2 separate regions of the Homo sapiens genome follow, and region 1 is linked to region 2. Evidence: promoter capture Hi-C in 16 types of primary human blood cells and fetal thymus (Javierre and others, 2016). All regions are on one chromosome and are shown on one strand. The core of a region is centred on a gene start or on the middle of the fragment in contact, and the rest is flanking DNA. Distances in the headings are between cores, read along the strand shown.

Evidence for each region. Contacts are between HindIII fragments. The CHiCAGO score rates a contact against its expected background, and 5 or more counts as called.
Region 1: a fragment that was not itself captured here is called in contact with the fragment with the promoter of SP2 in region 2 in 4 of 17 cell types (neutrophils, fetal thymus, non-activated CD4 T cells and 1 more); the score reaches 9.7 in neutrophils.

What each region holds. Positions count from the first base shown.
Region 1 is chr17:48,615,541-48,618,618 of GRCh38, forward strand. No RefSeq gene overlaps it. Among named protein-coding and RNA genes, the nearest start is that of HOXB8, 1.8 kb to the left of the region's middle. RefSeq lists an enhancer at 1,970-2,493. The HindIII fragment of the contact is 3,223 bases long and covers 210-3,078 here.
Region 2 is chr17:47,894,608-47,898,019 of GRCh38, forward strand. It overlaps SP2 (Sp2 transcription factor), which reads left to right and starts at 1,629. Exons shown (of 7, transcript NM_003110.6): 1 at 1,629-1,686. The coding sequence starts at 1,680. It overlaps SP2-DT (SP2 divergent transcript), which reads right to left and starts at 1,209. Exons shown (of 3, transcript NR_135480.1): 1 at 1,096-1,209. RefSeq lists silencers at 1-150, 1,699-2,128. The HindIII fragment of the contact is 7,029 bases long and covers 1-3,412 here.

The DNA.
Region 1 (3,078 bases), core at 571-3,070, 720 kb after region 2:
GGCACGCTGTTAATTTCGCGATTTTAACGAGGCAATTGGAGTCTTTCTAAATGTCAGGGTCGCTTCGGAAAAATGTAAAAGAACACGGTTTAATTGCGCCGAGTTTTAAAAGGTCCTATAAATGTAATTGGTATTTTAATACAAGTTATCAAATCATACAGCTTCCTCTCCTAAACGTATTTTCAAACAAACGAGGTAGTCATATTTAAAGCTTTAATGATCAATTTCCTTATTATTGATAAAGGTTTAACTATCGTGTGGAGGGAATTGGCTGGATAACCGGCCCCCCAAAAAACGGCTGTAAACTCTTTAAGAAACTATAAAACGCAATAAAGCCGGAGTCTGTTGTTGTTTATGCCGCAGCGCATAAAAGCTGTTAGCATTTTACGAGTTCTTTCCTCTACAGCTATAAAACTGCAGCTTCGATCGCCCCCGCCGCCCGATTGCAGCACGGTGGGGGTGACGAAGCCGAAATGAGAATGATTATGGGGATTTTTTTTTGGCACAAACGGTGACTTTTCTGAGATTTTCACCTCCTTCCGTCCTGGCAAGCACCTGCCCCCACCCCTTCTCTGGAGCCCCCAAAAGGTCCCTTCTCTGCCCTGCCCTCTCTGCCCTGCCCTGGCCAGTCACAAAACTTCCTCTCATTAAACAAATAAGCAAAAATTTTCTGTGAAACAGGGATCTGGGAGATCTTGAGGAGGGAACGGGAGGGAAGAAGAAACTTTCTGGTTAATGAGCAGTGGTTGAAGCACAGAGCAAAGTTCGAGCTGCCACTGCCGATTCTGCAGGTTTGTGCACTCTCTGCTTGCTGAAAAGGGGGTCTCCTGAAGGCCCTTCAGCCCATCAGCACTTTTGAGGGCAGACTTTGCATGAAGGGAGAGGGCCTGATGCCATCAGAGGGATGAAGCCCCAATGGGCTACCCGACACTTGCACCCAGGCCTTGGGACCCAGTAGCCAAGCCCAATTATTAATAGCTCCCAACCTTCCCAGGCCGACCCCCACACCTTCTGCAGTGCCTAAGGGTGAGAGGGGACCACTGAGCCCATCACTGCATCAAAAGGAAAGAAGGTTGGGTATCAGGCCCTGGCACCTGGCCTTCGTGTCCGCTGTCCTATGCTCTCAGCCACCCTAGGCAGTGCCTGCAGAGTATGTGTTGGGAGGGCATCTATTAGTCCTCAGTGTCCCCAAGACCTTTTGAGCCACTGTCACCACCTAAACTGACTTGGGTGTGGAATTCAGATAAAGCAAGGTTGCTGAGTCTCCCATTTTCTCTCCTTTCGCCTTGGGGAGCCTGTAGTTAAACCTGGCTCTCCCTGCAGACCTGGGAACCAGAGGTCTGAACACGGAAAGCTGGAACAAGCTGACTGGGTGCCACACTCTGTGGCCACTGCGTTCCCTGCCTACCCGGCTTCACGATGGTGGTGGCCAGGCTTTAGAAGGCCCCAGTCTGAGGGTCAGAACCAGTAGCCTCCTGTAGCAGTAGATTGGCAAGGGAGAGGAATGAGAGACAGAAAGAAAATTTTGAGCAACAAAAGTGGAGGCTTTACAAATATATTCAATCCATTGTTTATTCAGGAAACAGTGGTTTGTTTTTTTGACGGGCACCTTTTGGGGACCCCATACACCCCAACATTTGTAAAAATGAAACTATCACTTTTCCAAAGGGAACCTTACCAGTGAGGTCATTTGGTTCTTCAAAAGTGAACCTAGAGAATGAGAGAGGGGCTAGAAGCGGGAGAGAGATAAAGGAAAAGAGGAGGAATGGAGAGAACCAGGGCTTTGAATTTTCAGCGCGTGGCTGAGGGGACCGTGAGGCAACGGAGGGCCGAGTTAAATTGTTGCCGAAGCAAACATTTTTATCAAGTGCAGAGGATTTTATGGTCATTATTTGAAAACTCACCGGCGAGGTACAAATTCAATGGCTTGTTCTAAATCATCTCTACACCGTGCCAGAAATTCCTGATGGAAGGAAAATGTTTCTGTTATAGGAAAAAAAAAAAAAAAAAACGAAAGAGCGAGGAGACAATTTATAAACACCCAGCGGAGCGCAGATTTATTAGAGAAACTCAAGTTGAGGAGAAACTCCGCTTACCTCCTTGCACTAAGTCCTGGTGGGGGAGAGGAGAGGCTGCAGCTGGGGTGATTTTGAGGGGGTGGGAGTATCTATTGCTGGCGCAGGTTTGTCGGATGGAAGGCAGGGATCCGGCGGGGCCGGGAGGACACAGGAGATTTGGAATGCAAGGGGCTGTGAACAACCAGGGTGCGGGTCTCAGAACGAAAGTGCCCGGAGTCCAGACCTCCAGCTGCTCAATGAGGAAAGGACCGGCGCCCCCAGGTTTGCCTGCGGCCAGGGCCAAGGCGCACTGAAGCCGCACCTCTCACCTGGAAGCCCAGGAACCCAGGGAGAACAGAGCTCCTGCGTCCTGACGCCGCGCCCGCCTTCGCGCCCATGGGAAAACGCGCATTCTTTGGGAGCGCGCAAAGCATCCAGAGACCACATCCGAGCCTTCCCGCACCCTGCTGCCCTGGGGAGCCCCTGCCCCGTGCCTAGGTCGCCCTGCGCGAGCCCAGCCCAGCCCTGGACTCATACAAAGGCTCCAGAGCTTGCGCCCGTGCGAAGCCGCCCTGCCGGCTTTGGGCATCTCCGAATCCCCACAAAAGCTATGGCTCCATTCCCCCACACACACAAACTGGGGGGTCTCGGGCTGGCTTACGTGATTTTCTCTCCAGCCGATGGGCAGCTTCCTCTCCATCCTACCTTCTTTTGCCGGCTAGCCCCTCTCACCTGACCTGCTGACCCGCATCCAGGGACATTCCTTTCGCCTCCTTTCACGGAAAATCTCGTTGTTTCGAATCAATTCTCCTTTTGGATTTGGACCCATTATTCCTATTATTACTATTATTCCCCGTTTTCACGCATTTGTTGCCCCACCGAACACAGCAACTGGGTGAGAATCACTGAGCCCTCCTCTTGGGGAAAATTCAGAAAATTGACCATTTGAGGAGATGGGGGAACACTACTATAACTGAAATCTATAAAATGGGGGTAAGGCCATAACGAGCCCTATTTTTTT
Region 2 (3,412 bases), core at 379-2,878:
AGGTTAAGAAGAAAAAAGAGTGGGAGGACTTTGCCTAGAAAGGAGTTTGGGCTTTATCTAGGAGATACGGATCCCATGAAGGATCTTTACTAGAGGAGTATTATTGTCTAAAGTCTTGTTTTTCAAAGGCTAACACTGAGAGGAGAAGACTGGAAGAGGCTATTAACATTTATTCAGCAATTACTGTGTACCCGGTATTCTGCTCTGCATTTTGTATTATCACACCAACCTTTTCTAGCAGTGTTTTTCAAACTGCCAGTCATGATCAACAAGAAGGAGAATAAGATAGGATAGGATAAGCATAGAAACTATCAGTGCGTCACAAGTAGTAAGCATTGTTTTCGGAAACTTTATGACACTCTCATACAAATAGCAGTGTACTGGTCTGTATGCAAAATGTATTTCTCTTGATGGACTATGTTTTTTTTTGTTTGTTTTTTTTTTTTTTTTTTTTAAGCCATCGCGCTAAGGTGTAGGTGTGATTAACCTCGTTTTACTGATGAGGACATGAAGCTCAGGGAGTTTCGGTACCCTGCCTAAGTTAGTGGGATGTGTAGGTTTCAAACCCAGACTGGTCTGAAGCCAGAATGGATTCCCTCACTAAGCTAGGCAGCCTTCCCAAGTTCTCGGAAGAGACTTGGGAGCAAAGATAAACCTACCCGCCTAGTGCCTACCAAGTGCTTTACCTCATCTCAAGAAGGTAAGGGTAAGTGGGGCAGAGGCCAAGCAGTACTTCTCAAACTCAAGCGTGCAATTCTGTCCACGCGAGGCCCTTGCTAAAATGCAGATTCTAGGCACGCCCCGTGAAGTACCGAGTCGGATTAGGAGAGGCGGCCAGGGGAGCCTGCCTTTAGAAAGAGCTTCGGATGATTCAGATGCACACGTTTGGGACCGTGGGCTATGGGGGTCGCCGCAATAACCATGTGAGGATTAACGGGGGCTTAACCGATTGTGAAAATCCCCTTAGAAGTGTCGCGTAAACAACCCCAACTCCCACTATGGTGCCGGACCCCAGTGCCTCACTGTACAAAGTCGCCCCTCCCCAGGCGACAACGAGAGAGGGACTAAATAAAAGGTTGATGGCTTTCCACTCACCAGGCATGGGGTTGAGTGGCAGCCGGCTACTGCCGAAGAGCAGGTAAAAGCTCCTGCCACACCTGGGCGAGACTGGACTTAGGGCGCAATGTATATGCTATTTCTGGGGCATTTGTGGGCCTCACCCTAAGGACTTCTGATTGGCTTCAGGGCAGATCTATCATTCATCCTCTGGGTTAGAGGTGGGTGGAAGGTCAACCTCGACCAATACAAAAGCACTCTTCGGCTAAGCCCCTCCCCTTCCAGCTTCCTGTTGCTGTACATCAACCACCCAGCGGGCGGGACTTTGCCTCCCTCCAATTGGCTGATGCACATGTCACTCATTATTCAATTGGCTTTCGGTTGGTGCGCTCTACCGTCCATCAGTGACATTGCACAGACCTATTGGTCAAATCAACGTCGCTCTAGACGCCTCTGGTTGATTGGTTAATAGTGCTGTCGGTCCCCAATGTTCCAAGCGCTTATTGGTGAAGGCTGCCGTCGCTCGGGCGGTGGCGGGCTCCGGGATTGGCGGTTGCTTGGCGGGCGGTGTCAGGCTCTCGGTGGCGGCGGAGGCGGCGGAGGCCAGGGAGGAAGATGTCGTAATGAGCGGTGGGTCCCGGCCGCTGCCGGCGGGGTCTTCCCGGCCCCCAAGGGTCAGGAAGACGGGCAGAGGCCGCGGGGAGAGGGAGCCGAGGCCGGGGGTTCCCCCCTGGGGCTGGGTCTGGCGTCGGGGCCCGGCTTCAGGAGGGGCGGGGGAGGGAGGATTCCCGCCCGGAGGAGGAGCGGGGCTGGCCAGCCGGGCGGAGGCACCCGGAAGGGGGCGTTCGACTCCCCGCCCCCTCGGAGCCCGCCGGGCGGGAGGGCGGCGCTTCCGGGGGCCGGCGAGAGGAGCGGGCACCGGGGTGGCCTGGCACCCCTCGGACGGGTGCCGACCCACTTCAACGCCGCTCTCCCGCCTGGGCGAACTATGCCTGGGTCGGCTCTGAGGAGGCAGCCAACAGCCCTTGTGTTCGCCCCGTGTCTGAGAGGCCTTCCTGCACTCTTAACTGTAGATGCCCACCAGCGATTCAGGGCTCCCCGGAGAACAGAGAGGGGCGAGGGAACGCTTGAGACCCGGACGCTGCCAACCAGATGGGCACTGCTCGGCATCGACGACAGCCCGGTTACTGATATATCCCCAGTCGGGCGATGGTGTCAGGACACGAGAGCACTCCCTGGGCAGATGACCTCTCACCGGGGAGTGGGCAAAAACCTTCCTTTAATGTTTTTACTTGGATCCTTGATCTTCCAGCTAGATATCTGCAAGCTCTTAGCAGAATTGTGAGAAGTTTGAGAACTTCTTGCCAGAGCTCCCAGCCTGTTACTTGACGCCCCGTAGGGGAGACTACTGCAGTCCCAAAGCTCAGGCGCAAACAATCTTAAGGAATTACAGAAGAAATAAAACAAAATAGATACTCGCTCTCTTCCTGTACCCACCTCCATCCCCATTGCTGACTTACGGTTTTCAGCCTCTTATCCATGCTTCTTATGTTTCCTTGCCAGCGGCTTTCTAATTTTAGTTCAGAAGGAACTATGTTTTCTCCTCTGGGCAACTGAGAAACCTGTCCTCACTGCATTCCTTGGTTTTGATTGCAATATCCTGTCATGTTTGTTTCTTAATTAACTTCATCCAAGGGGACTCAGTCTGGCCTTTCTCAGTGCATTCTCCCAAAGTTCTTTCTTCTTCTGAGGTTACTTCTTGTTCACTTATTGTTTCCTAGAGAAAGGTATGAGCCAGTAGATCTGCTTTAAACAATGAATTGGCCCAAGTTTCCCGTTTACAGATTTCATTACAGATGGACACTGTTTCAAGGTGCACTGGCATGCACTGTCTAAAACGGTTTCATGCTGTACCCCAGAAGGCATTCAGTTTCACAGTGGAGGGCTGTATTGAGTTGGTATTCTGGATGATACAATTTTTAGGGCTAGAAAGTTTAGAGTGTTGGCTGGCTCACAGGCTGCAAAGGAAATAATGGTGGAGTCCAGACCACAGCAGTAATTTCAATTACTAACACAAAGAAACCCATTGTCTGCAATAATGAATATAACTGCAGTGTCTTGTTTTGTTTTAAATTCTTGTGTGCGATGAAGGGGGCGAATCTATCAGACAACCTATCAATTGGGCTGATGATGTCAGTGTTCCAGTGGCTTCTAACAGGCGTTAATACCTGTTGGAAATGGATTATCATTGGCTGGGACGATTGGTAAGTTTTCTAATTCTAGTTCTTCCTCTTGGTTGTACAGAGGCTTAACCTCTTTGGTTAAAAGCAACTACAAGAAAAAAAGCGAGTCTGAC